3 separate regions of the Homo sapiens genome follow, and regions 2 and 3 are each linked to region 1. Evidence: promoter capture Hi-C in 16 types of primary human blood cells and fetal thymus (Javierre and others, 2016). All regions are on one chromosome and are shown on one strand. Each heading gives the region's core, a stretch centred on a gene start or on the middle of the fragment in contact. The rest is flanking DNA. Distances are from core to core; before and after follow the strand shown.

Region 1 (4,276 bases), core at 1,331-3,830:
TCTGCATTTTGACAGGAGCCTTCAAGCATTAAAGTTTGAGAAGCACTGGTCGAGGATCTATCTCCTTTCTCACCTGTCTGGCGGTCAGCAGGCTTGTTTGTCTGGGGGGTGGGGGGCCTCAGCTGGGAGGGCTTATTTTCTGAGCCATGTTGCTAACCCAGGCTTCTTCACGAGCCGATCTCAGGGTTCCAAAGAGCAGGATGAGGGCAATTCCCACAGCAGGAGTATTTTTCAAACCTTTGCTGTGTCATGTTTGCTACTGTCCCACAGGCCAATGCAAGCCACATGGTCATCCCAGAGTCAGTATGGGAAGGCATTGCCCAAAGGCAAAACAGAGGAGGGGAATACTTTGTGGTTATTTAAAAAACCTATCACACTTTCCACTATCAGAGTTGAGGCTTTTGGAGCGGAGGGCGGGGGGTGGGGGGAAGCGGGAAACACCAGCAACTATTTGCATTCTGCCCAGCCACACCTCTCCCCTCACACCAGCACAGAGCCACCTACTTGCTTAAAAGATGAGAGGAGGCCAGGCACAGTAGCTCAGGCCTGTAATCCCAGCACAAGGCCGAAGTGGGAGGATCACTTGAGCCCACGAGTTCAAGACCAGCCTGGGCAACATACAGACCCCGGTCTCTACAAAAAACAAACAAACAAACAAAATTAGCTGGGTGTGGTCCACATGCCTGTGGTCTCAGCTGCTTGGGAGGCTGAGGTAGGAAGATCGCTTGGGCTTGAGAGGTTGAGGCTGCAGTGAGTGGTGATAGTGCCACCGCACTCCAGCCTGGGTGACAGAGCCAGACCCTGTCTCAAAGCTTTTTAAAAAAGCCAGAGAGGAGGGAAAAGTGAAAACAGAAGGGAAAGTTGTAGATTAATATTGCAAAATCATATCCTTGCTATAAACGAGATGTGTACAGAGGTCAATGCATATATGAGTTTGGTAGTGGAAAAGTGAGAGATCGTCTAACATGGTTTCTTTATGAAGTAGGCAGTAAGGTCATGTGCTGAGAAGAGGTGGGTGGGGGAAGAGGGGTATCAGAAGTCTGAGGAGACTAGAGAAGGTTTGAAATCATCATAATGGAACTGGAGACTGGGAAGTGACATGAAGAACCTAAGATTTCAGCAACCATTTCAGGTTGATGATTATGAGGTTATCTTGATGCTGATCTGTTCTGTGGGCTCCCAAAGTGCTGAGATTACAGGCGTGAGCCACTGTGCCTGGCTCACACCTGTGGAGAAATGTTTCGCAGTGGTGTTTGCAGGCACAGAGAAAGCCAAAAGCAGGGTTTGGGGGATTTTGCTAGATGAGTAATGAAAAGGCAGAGGGCACGTGAGTTTAGCTTATTGGAGGGAGTGTTATTAAAATAATGGTATGGCATCTTTCAGCTGAATATGAAAAATTGAGAAGAAAGTGGGGGTGGTGGTCAAAAAGTGGAGGTTGGAGAATAGGGAAGATTTGAACAACTGGCTGGAAGAAGAGGGGAATTGTGGAAAGAAAACGAAATGCTTGAGTCAGTGGTTTCACAGGTGGAGTAGCTTCCGTGATGAAAAAGACCAGTGGAGAGCATTGCATATGTTCTCACTCTTCCAATTTGAACACCTTCCCCTGGTGGAGATAAGTAGATATGCTTTCTATGTTTTATTAACTTTACAACACCTTCCCCAAGCTGGTGAAAGGAAGCTCTCACTTCCTTATTCATTAGCCTGATGAAACAGAGCAAAATGTATCTTTTTTGGTTCTGTTTTGAATTTTAGTAACTCTAGTCTTCATCTGCCTGTTGGACTTCCTGTCTCTTTTTCATCTATCTTTGGGTACACATTTCTTCTTACGGGTCCTTTTAAACACCGAGCTCCTGAGAAAGGTCACCATTCTACCACTTTGATTCTGTAAATGTCTTTTGCTCATAGGTGTCAGAATAGGCTGGGTTATACTGTGGTAACAACCCCCAAATCTCGCAATCCCAGGAGGTACATGGGTACTAAGAATTATTCACATTTTACAAATGACCAAACTGGGCCCCAGAGTATTGGTAAAATGTGCAGAGCCCATCAGCTGGTGAAACCCTAAGGAACACAACACTTAGAATTTCACAAAGGCTAGACTTTATGAAATGTGCTGCGTGGATGCAGTAGTATCTCCAACCCCCCTGGACCGCTCTGCCACGTACAATCTTCTATCTTTCAGTCCGGAACTCAGTAACACCCACTCCAGGGCTGATGGGGGCGCTGGATGTATAGTGGCGAGTGTTTATCTGCCTAGGATAGCGATGGCTAGGCAGGGGACATAAAACAGAAGAGGCAGTGACCTTCTCCGGGTGGGGTCTATGGCCCTTTACTGGGTACATTCTGTACACACAGGCCCCTCCTTTGCCTGAAGTCATTGATGAAGACTTCATTACGGAGGGTTTGGGGAAAGGTGGGGGTCTGGCTGGGTAAGCCGGCGTCCCAGCCCCGCTACAGCCCCGCCCAGATCTGGCAGAGCCGTGGGCGAACCCAGGCGGGCAGAAAGGCGGGGCGGGCGGCTGCCAAGCCGGCCAATAGGCGGCTCTCCGGCTGCTAAGCCGAGAGGGCAGGGGCGCCGTCAGTAGCACCACCGCCTTCCAAGTTTCCCCTTGTGGATGCGCGGCCCCGCGGCTCTGCTCCTCCCGGCGCAGAGGGGCCGGGAGAGGCCACAGGAGCGGACCTGGCACGGGATTTCTGAGGAACGGGAGAAGACTGGCGCCCGACCCGCTCTGGAGGGTCGGTGAACGATGAAGGGCCGGCGGCGGCGACGCCGAGAGTACTGCAAGTTCGCGCTGCTGTTGGTGCTGTACACGCTGGTGCTGTTGCTCGTCCCCTCCGTATTGGACGGCGGCCGCGACGGGGACAAGGGCGCCGAGCACTGCCCCGGCCTGCAGCGCAGCCTGGGAGTGTGGAGCCTGGAGGCGGCGGCGGCCGGCGAACGCGAGCAGGGAGCGGAGGCGCGGGCCGCCGAGGAAGGGGGCGCGAACCAGTCTCCTCGGTTCCCAAGCAACCTCAGCGGCGCTGTCGGGGAGGCAGTGTCTCGCGAGAAGCAGCACATCTACGTGCATGCCACCTGGCGCACCGGCTCGTCCTTCCTGGGCGAACTCTTTAACCAGCACCCGGACGTTTTCTACTTGTATGAGCCCATGTGGCATCTATGGCAGGCGCTGTATCCGGGCGACGCCGAGAGCTTGCAGGGCGCGCTGCGCGACATGCTGCGTTCGCTCTTCCGCTGCGACTTCTCCGTGCTGCGGCTGTACGCGCCGCCGGGGGACCCCGCTGCGCGCGCCCCGGACACGGCCAATCTTACCACGGCCGCCCTCTTCCGCTGGCGGACTAACAAGGTCATCTGCTCGCCGCCACTGTGTCCTGGCGCACCCCGTGCCCGGGCCGAGGTGGGCCTCGTCGAGGACACCGCCTGCGAGCGCAGCTGCCCACCCGTGGCGATACGCGCCCTGGAGGCCGAGTGCCGAAAGTACCCGGTGGTGGTCATCAAGGACGTGCGCCTGCTCGATCTGGGCGTGCTGGTGCCCCTGTTGCGTGATCCAGGCCTCAACCTGAAGGTGGTGCAGCTTTTCCGCGACCCGAGGGCGGTGCACAACTCGCGCCTCAAGTCTAGGCAGGGACTGCTGCGCGAGAGCATCCAGGTGCTGCGCACCCGCCAGAGGGGCGACCGCTTCCACCGTGTGCTGCTGGCGCACGGCGTGGGTGCTCGCCCCGGGGGCCAGTCTCGCGCGCTGCCCGCCGCGCCGCGCGCCGATTTCTTCCTGACCGGTGCGCTCGAGGTGATCTGCGAAGCCTGGCTGCGCGATCTGCTTTTCGCGCGCGGCGCGCCCGCCTGGCTGCGGCGCCGCTACCTGAGGCTGCGCTATGAGGACCTGGTGCGGCAGCCACGCGCCCAGCTGCGCCGCCTGCTGCGCTTCTCCGGGCTACGCGCGCTCGCAGCGCTCGATGCCTTCGCGCTCAACATGACTCGCGGCGCGGCCTACGGCGCCGACCGGCCCTTCCACCTGTCAGCGCGCGACGCCCGGGAGGCGGTGCACGCCTGGCGCGAGCGCCTGAGCCGAGAGCAGGTGCGCCAGGTGGAGGCCGCCTGCGCTCCAGCCATGCGTCTGCTCGCCTACCCTCGCAGCGGAGAGGAGGGCGACGCGGAGCAGCCCAGGGAAGGGGAGACGCCGCTGGAGATGGATGCCGACGGCGCCACGTAGCCTCCCATCCCTGTCCCCGGCACGGATCCGGGTAAGGTGGCCCGGGGCAAGGCAGGGACCGGGACTGG
Region 2 (4,276 bases), core at 909-3,408, 120 kb after region 1:
CTTTTAATATAAATGGTGTCATACAATATGTAGCCTCTTGTGTCTGGCTTCTTTCACTTAGTATGTTTTCAAGGTTTATCTATGTTGGAGGCATGTATCAGTACTTCATTCCTTTTTATTGCCAAATAGTATTCCACTGTACCAGTGTATCATATTTTATTTGTCCATTAACTAATCAATAAATATTTGAGTTGTTTCCCTTTTTTGTTAATGTGAATAACGCTGCTATGAACATTTGCATACAAGTCTGTGGACATGTTTTCATTTCCCTAGAGTAGATACCTAGGAGTGGAACTGCTGTGTCATATGATAAATCTATGTTTAATATTTTAGAAACTGCCAAACTACATTGGGAAAAATGTATTGTTTTACATTCTCGCCAGCAACACATGAGAGTTACAGTTTGTTGGCCGGGCGCAGTGGCTCACACCTGTAATCCCAGCACTTTGGGAGGCCGAGGCGGGCAGATCACCTGAGATCAGGAGCTCGAGACCAGCCTGACCAACATGGAGAAACCCCATCTCTACTAAAAATACAAAATTAGCTGGACGTTGTGGCACATGCCTGTAATCCTAGCTACTCAGGAGGCTGAGGCAGGAGAATCGCTTGAACCTGGGAGGTGGAGGTTACGGTGAGCCAAGATCGTGCCATTGCACTCTAGCCTGGGCAACAAGAGCGAAACTCCGCCTCAAAAAAAAAAAAAAAAAAAGAGTTATAGTTTGTTTACAGGCACAGCAGCACTTGTTATTGTCTTATGATCATACCTGTTTTAGAGAATGTTCAGAGGTATCTCATTGTAGTTTTAATGTGCATTTCCCTAATGCCTAAAGATGCTGAGCATCTTTTTATGTGCTTATAGGCCATTGTATATCTTCTTTGGTGAAATGTCTCGTCATTCAAATCTCTTGCCATATTTTAACTCAGGTTCTCTTATTGAATGGTAAAAAAAAAACCCAAACTTTTTGTTTTCTGGATAGAAGTCCCTTATTGAAAATACAATTTGAAAATATTTTCCCCAAATCTATGACCTATATTTTTCCTTTCTTTTTTAAAATTTCTCTGATGTTGTCTTAAAATTTTTTTTTTGCTTTATTGTTATACAATGAATTATTTTTTCTTTTGGTGTACAGTTCTATGAATTTTAACACACATATAGATTCATGTAAGCACCACTGCAACAAGGATACCAAATAGTTCTACCACTCCCCCAAAACTCTCTTGTACTATCTCTTCACACTGATACCTTCATCCTACATATTAACCCCAGCAACCACTGCTTTTTGTTTTGTTTTGTTTTGTTTTGTTTTTTCCATTAATACAGTTTTGTCTTTGCAAGGTTAAATACATGGAACCATGCAGTATGTAACCTTTTGAGACTGGCTTCTCTCACTCAGCGTAACACCTTTGAGGTTCATCCAAGTATTGTGTGAATTAACACTTCATCTCATTTTACTGCTAAGTTGTATTCCATTGTATAAACACTCACCTACTGAGGGATATCTGGCTTCTTTCCAGCTTTTGGCTGGCACAAATAAAGCTGCCATGAACACCCATGAACAAGTTTTTATATGAACATGTTTTCATTTCTCTAAGGTAAATACCCAGAGTGGGACTGCTCGGTCATATGTGCAGCATATCTTTAACTTTATGAGAAACTGCAAGCCATTTCTCAAAGTAATTATGCCTTTTTTTTTTTTCAGTTCTTTTTTTTTTTGTTTAAGTTCTGGGATACATGTGCAGAACGTGCAGGTTTGTTACATAGGTATACATGTGCCATGGTGGCTTGCTGCACCTATCAACACATCATCTAGGTGTTAAGCCCCGCATGCATTAGATATTTGTCTTAATGCTCTCCCTCCCCTTTCCCCCTACCCCCTGACAGGCCCTGGTGTGTGATGTTCCCCTCCTTCTGTCCATGTGTTCTCATTGTTCAACTCCCACTTACGAATGAGAACATGCGGTATTTGGTTTTCTGTTCCTGTGTTAGTCTGCTGAGAATGATGGCTTCCAGCTTCATCCATGTCCTTGCAAAGGACATGAACTCATTCTTTTTTATAGCTGCATAGTATTCCATTGTATATATGTGCCACATTTTCTTTATCCATTCTATCAAAGAAATACCATTTGACCCAGCAATCCCATTACTGGGTATATACCCAAAGGATTATAAATCATTCTACCATAAGGACACATGCACACGTATGTTTACTGCAGCACTATTTACAATAGCAAAGACTTGGAACCAACCCAAATGCCCAACTATACCATTTTTTAACCACTGTCCCCTACAGCATCATATGAGGGTTCTAGTTGCTCCACATCCTCATCCACATTTGGTATTGCCAATATCTCTCATTTTAGCCATTCTATTGTAATAGGTGTGTAGTGGTATTTCACCATACTTTAAATTTGCATTTCCCTAATGGCTAATGATGTTGAATATCTTTTTGTGTACTTATTGGCAATCCTAATACCCTCTTCAGAGAAATGTTTCTTCAAGTTATTTGCCCATTTTAAAAACTGGGTTGTTTTCTTATGGGTTCCTTATATATTCTGGGTTCCCTTATACATTTTGGGTTCCTTATATATTCTAGATACAAGTCCTTTGTCAGATATATGATTTGCAAATATTTTCTACCAGACTGTAGCTTGTCTTTCCAGCCTCTTGACATTGTCTTTGGCAGAGCAAAATTTTTTTACTCTGATAGATTAAATCTAATTTATCCATTTTATTTTATTGCTTGTGGCTCTGGTATCATATCTAAAAAACACTTGTCTAACCCAAAGTTATGAATATTTCTTATGTTTTTAAGTGTTTTATAGCCTTGATGCTTACATTTAGATCTCTGATACAATCTGAGTTAACTTAGTGTGTATGGTGTCAGGTTAAGGTCCAAATTCATCCTTTTGCATACGGGTATCTAATTGCTCCAGCACCATTTGTTAAAAATACGGTCTTTTCTCCAGTGAATTCTCTTGGTACCTTTGCTGAAAATCAACTGACCATAAACACAATGGTTTATTTCTGGAGCTGGTGGGAGAAATGGGAGCTGGTGGTCACTGCAGTCTATTCCACCTGCCTGTGATAAATCATCCAGAACATGGATCTGGCAGGGATGGGAGCAATCTTAAATGCCATAGACACCTACTATTCTTACCAAGATTCAGTAGATTTTCTTTAATAAATGTTCCTCAATTTAATTGACCTTTCATCAATTTACAGAGACTAAATAGTTATTTTTGACAACTTTGTCCAATTTTATTGCTGTGTTTTGGGAAGAAGATTTATTGAGCTCTCACACAGTCATTCCAGAAGTCCTCCCATGAGCATGAATAACAGAATTCCTACATGCTTGTTATCTTGCCATGTTTTATAAATGTATAAGAAGCAAAAATTTACTGAAAATGTTTGCTTTTGTATATTGTAGCAAATTAATTCTAAGGCATTATTTGTTGCTATTTACCAACTTTTCCTGATATATTTATTTTGTCTGGTAGTAATGAGGAAGCATAATGGAGAAGAATTTGGTAGATTCAGTGACAGAAGACCTGGGTAGGTAACTTCACTTTCCACCTAGCTACAATCCAGCACAAAGTACCTCTCTGCTGCTCATTTCTAAAATTGGGCTGTTGTAAGAATGTAGTGAGAACATGCATATGTCAAAACCCTTTATAAACTGTCAAAAGCTGTACAAATGCTGCTTTTTATGAGCCCTTTAGAATTAGTTATTTTCCTTTGCATCATCTCTTGCTATAAAAATAGTGCATATTGGGGATGGAGGTTAGGAAGACAAGTGATATGTGGGCTGGAGCAAAATAGAAAAAATATCTCTAGAAAAGTAGCTACAGAACTCACTGTTTTTGAAGTTGTCCTGTCCAGCAAAGGCACAGGACACCATAACTTCCTTATTTGTCCCTCTAGCAGCTTCCCAGGTGCCTGTAAAATGAGCACTTCTACAGCAATTTTACAGTTATATAGGGTTTTCACCAGAGGAAAATTTCAAGGGTAGGCATAATTGTCCTTGTATAAATGCTGATTTATTTAGAAGACTCTCCCAGGGATTTAGCAAAACACATAATGATAGTAATAAAACAGTATCATCATATAATGTATCATCATCAATCTTTGTGGCACTGTAGATTGGTAAACAGGCCAAAAAGTAAGCAACCTTACTCTATCAGTTTTCTTTTAATAAGAATTAAAAGACTGCAAGGAAGACAGGTTTCATGGAGCTAGCAACCTTACTATTAAAAATTCCCATTAAAATGGGAAATA
Region 3 (4,276 bases), core at 625-3,124, 78 kb after region 1:
TGTCCATCCACTGGTAGGCACATGAGAAGCCAATCCCCCAAACTATGTCTATATTCCAGAAACTGCATTTACAATGGGCCCAGACCAAGGAACCAAATATTTTTCTATTTTATCTTTTCTTCCCTTCATTTTTCTTTTTCCTTCTCCTTTTTTTTTTGGTGGGGGCGGGGAGAAAGAGTCTTTCCCACCATGATCTGCAGCAGCAGGGAAGCTTGAGAAAAAGTAGGGTCACTGCCTGCAGGCAACCCTGGGCAGTGTGAGGAAGGGCTGCCCATACTGCAGACGTAGTCATGAGCAAGAGGAACAGAACCTTTGGGTCATCCAAATCAGGGAACCTCCTGGATTGGAATTCATACAGCAATGAATTGTCAAAAATAACACTGGAGACTGACATGGTTGCTGACTTTTAGATTCACCAAGAAGAGCACTTTACAAAACAATCACCTGCCGAGCACCAGTTTAACAGAAAGGCCATCTTACATAGAAAAGGCAGAAAGGATGATCTTGGAATACATGCAGTCCTTTAAATCAAATACATTTAGTGTTATGAAATGCCACTTAAGCCTTCTTTTTTTCATCATAAAAACCCTGTGAACTAGCATGGAGTTAGTCACCTACCCAAAACAGAAATAGTAATTATTATTTTATGATGGTTTATATTATTATATTATTGTTATTTTATATTATTATTATGACTATTATTACTATAGCTTCTCCAACAGTGGTCGTCTCTGCATGTAGAAAATGGTGGAACAAGAAAAGGATACAAAAGCTCCGATGATGAAAATGGGGCTGAAAACGTGCTTCTGGAAGGTAAACAGTGCCAGGCCCATGTAGGAGAAGATGAAGTTCTCTGCCAGGAAATGTAACACCTCAAAGAGCTGCACAGAGAAGGGAAAAGGAAGCTGTAACCCTGCAGTTCCCCCTTCCCTGTGTTAACAAGCAACTCGTGAGTACCAAGCCTCTCTCTCACCTGCTTGGTTCGACTTCTTGATTCCACCGACAGATTGTTGTAGGTGTAATGAGCTTGTGTGATTCCACAGAAAAGGACAGCTACAACACCTGTTAAAACATCCCCCCAAAAAAAATCAATGGAAAAAAAAGAGGCAGGGGAAAAAAAAAACCCTGCTAGAACAAAAAGTTAAGGTAGGCAAGCCTAGCATATCCAACTTCCTGAATATTTTTGAAACTTTCCTATTGCTGGGTCGGGCGCAGTGGCTCACACCTGTAATCCCAGCACTGCAGGAGGCCAAGGCAAGCAGATCGCTTGAACCCAGGAGTTTGAGACCAGCCTGGGAAACATGGTAAAACCCCATCTCTACCAAAAATACAAAAAATTAGCCGGATGTGGTGGCGTGGGCCTGTGGCCCAGCTACTAGGGAGGCTGAGGTGAGAGGATCGCTTGAGCCTGGGAGGTCGAGGCTGCAGTGAGCCATGATCACGCCTCTGCACTCCAGTCTGGGCGACAGAAGGCAACCTTTTCTCAAAAGAAAAAAAAAAAAAAAGAAAAAGAAAAAAAAGAAAAAAAAGTTTCCTATTACTACTGAACACTCCTACAACCCCTCACCTCTCAACCTTTGTGTCTCCCAACCCTGCCTTCCTTCAAAGCCAAGTACCTCAACATCCCCTCCTTGTTCCAGTTTTAAGGGTATCTCCTGCCTCCTCTAAACTCCTCCAACTACCATCTGTAGTTGGCATATAGCATTCATTCCTTCAAAGAGACTGTGAGGGCCCATCCAAATTTTTGCCATATTCCTCACTGTTTTTAGAATGAATGAACTGAATTTCAAACTAATGCTTTATATACATATATATTTTTTGAGACAAAGTGGATTATATATTATATATCCCTCAGTGGACGGCAGTGGCATGATCTCGGCTCACTGCAGCCTCTATCTCCAAGGCTCAAGTGATCCTCCCACCTCAGCCTCCTGAATAGCTGGGACTACAGATGCACACCACCACACCCAGCTAATTTTTGTATTTTTTTGTAGAGATGGGGTTTCTCCATCTTGCCCAGGCTGGTCTTGAACTCCTGAGCTCAAGGGATCCACCTGCCTTGGCCCCAAAGTGCTGGGATTATATAGGCATGCGCACTGTGCCTGGCCTAGATTTTTTCACAGTCTAGGGCTTTAGACAAAATAGATCAAGAGTACTATTCCATTTATCCAAGCCCCGATCTTCTATATTTCTGGTTAATGGTAACCATTTTGTTGTGCGAGACAAATGACACACCTGGGACTTTGCCTACACATTTACAGATAACTGTTAAATTTTAAGGAAGTGGGGCATTTTGTAATGCTGCATATAAAGATTTGCTACAGTATTTTGAAAGGGTGACAAAAGTACATCCTAAGTACCTGGATTATGTACAGAACTGTACTTGAATTTTCTAATGGAAAAATTCAATGTTTTTTTAAAATGAAAGAATGTGAGGAAGTAAAACCACATGTTTCACCTCACTAATACTATATGAAACTGACACCATAAAAATGTGATATTGAAAAGCAATGATTAAATAGCCCAGAAACAAAACAATGAAAAACCGTGTTCACACTCATCTGAGCAGAGGCAAAATCACCCTTTAAAGGACACATATTTTGCTTGTTATTGCTACTGTTTGCAAAATAACATAGCAATCAAGGGAAATATACAAATAAAATTTTAATAGATTCTTTGCACCTTAACATCTACTTACAGTTAGAATGAGTACTCAAAAATGTAATTGACTTTGGAATGATAAACTTTATCATTAAAATCTACTTTTTCAGGCTGGGCATGGTGGCTCATGCCTGTAATCCCAGTGCTTTGAGAGGCTGAGGTAGGAGGTTCACTTAAGGTCAGGAGTTTGAGACCAGCCTGGACAACATAGCAAATGTTGTCCATCTCTACAAAGAATAAAGAAGTTAGCTGGGTGTGGTACGTGCCTGTAGTCTTAGCTACTTGGGAGGGTGAAGGGGGAAGATCCCTTGAGCCTAGGAGTTCGAGGTTACAGTGAGCTATGATTGTGCTGCTGCACTCCAGCCTGGGTGACACAGCAAGACCCTGTCTCTAAAAAAATAAAATTAAAAAAAGTCTAGCTTTTTGGAAAGTAAATAATCCATTTAAGACAGAACAATAGCCTTGCTCAGCAATCCTCCATACGGACACTTGCTGAACAGTTAAACTCTGTGCAGCTGTTATCTAAGAATTCTTCCCTTCCTTCAAGTTCCCACAGACCCCACTACAGTGAGGGGAAGGGTGGTCCAAGAGTAGAAAAAACCTACCTGTAAATCCGCAGGCTTCTGCCAAGAGAAACGTGCTCCAGGACATGAGGAAGAACAGCGCCGTCTCCAGCAGGGGGAAGCAGTGCAGTTTGGTAAACTTAGTCACGTTGGCATTCTGTCAAGGACCCTGTCTCCAGGTACATGTATCAGGGCCACCAAGAACCATACTCCACTAGCCCAGGACCCCTCCCCAAAGGGCTAGCCTTTCCCTTCAACCTTTTTTTTTTTTTGGAGGCTCTAAAGCTGCTGGAGATTTCTTAAGTAATACAAATTAAGCTTTCCAGTGGAACACAAGTTTTGTAGGGGCTGGAGAGAGGAAGAAACAGGGAGACATTGTTTAATGGGTACAGAGCTTCTGTTTCGGATGATGAAAAAATTCTGAAAGTAGACAGGGAGATGGCTACATGACATTGTGAATGCGGAATTGTGCACGTAAAGATGGTTAAATGACAAATCTCGTTGGCTATATTTTACCACAATTTTAAAAAATTAATCATGTAGGCCAGGTGTGGTGACTCATGCCTGTAATCCTAGCACTTTGGGACCCGAGGCAGGTGGATCACCTGAGGTCAGGAGTTCAAAACTAGTTTGGCCAACATACTGAAACCCTGTCTCTACTAAAAATACAAAAATTAGCCGGGTGTGGTCACACGCATCTGTAATCCCAGCTATTCAGGAGGTTGAGAATCAATTGAACCCGGCAGGCAGAGGTTGCAGTGAGCCAAGATTGCACCACTGCACTCCAGCCTGGGTGACAGAGTGAGACTCCGTCAAAAAAAAAAATTATCATGTAATATACCAAAAGCCATTAAATTTAAATGGGTGACTTGTATGGTATATAAATTATATCTCAATAAGGCTGTTCTTTTAAAAATTCAGAATTCTAGAGAAACTGGCAACTAGTTTTCTGTGCTCCTTGAATGGCCATGGTTCTGAGAGGCATGGTCATGACGTCAGGCTGGCTTGTTGGGTTGGTTCCAGCAGGGCTGTGAAGACAAGGCCTGTGAGAC

The links. Contacts are between HindIII fragments. The CHiCAGO score rates a contact against its expected background, and 5 or more counts as called.
Region 2: a contact is called between a fragment that was not itself captured here and the fragment with the promoter of CHST7 in region 1, in 2 of 17 cell types (neutrophils and monocytes). The highest score is 8.7, in neutrophils.
Region 3: a fragment that was not itself captured here is called in contact with the fragment with the promoter of CHST7 in region 1 in 1 of 17 cell types (neutrophils); the score reaches 5.5 in neutrophils.

The regions. Positions count from the first base shown.
Region 1 is chrX:46,571,185-46,575,460 of GRCh38, forward strand. It overlaps CHST7 (carbohydrate sulfotransferase 7), which reads left to right and starts at 2,581. Exons shown (of 2, transcript NM_019886.4): 1 at 2,581-4,239. The coding sequence starts at 2,748. The coding sequence ends at 4,208. RefSeq lists silencers at 3,599-3,648, 3,769-3,828. The HindIII fragment of the contact is 5,347 bases long and covers 811-4,276 here.
Region 2 is chrX:46,687,908-46,692,183 of GRCh38, forward strand. The region is part of intron 1 of SLC9A7 (solute carrier family 9 member A7); the gene reads right to left. Among named protein-coding and RNA genes, the nearest start is that of SLC9A7, 69 kb to the right of the region's middle. The HindIII fragment of the contact is 5,375 bases long and covers 1-4,276 here.
Region 3 is chrX:46,650,343-46,654,618 of GRCh38, forward strand. It overlaps SLC9A7 (solute carrier family 9 member A7), which reads right to left. Exons shown (of 17, transcript NM_001257291.2): 8 at 3,267-3,372; 9 at 974-1,062; 10 at 768-881. Among named protein-coding and RNA genes, the nearest start is that of CHST7, 79 kb to the left of the region's middle. The HindIII fragment of the contact is 3,331 bases long and covers 210-3,540 here.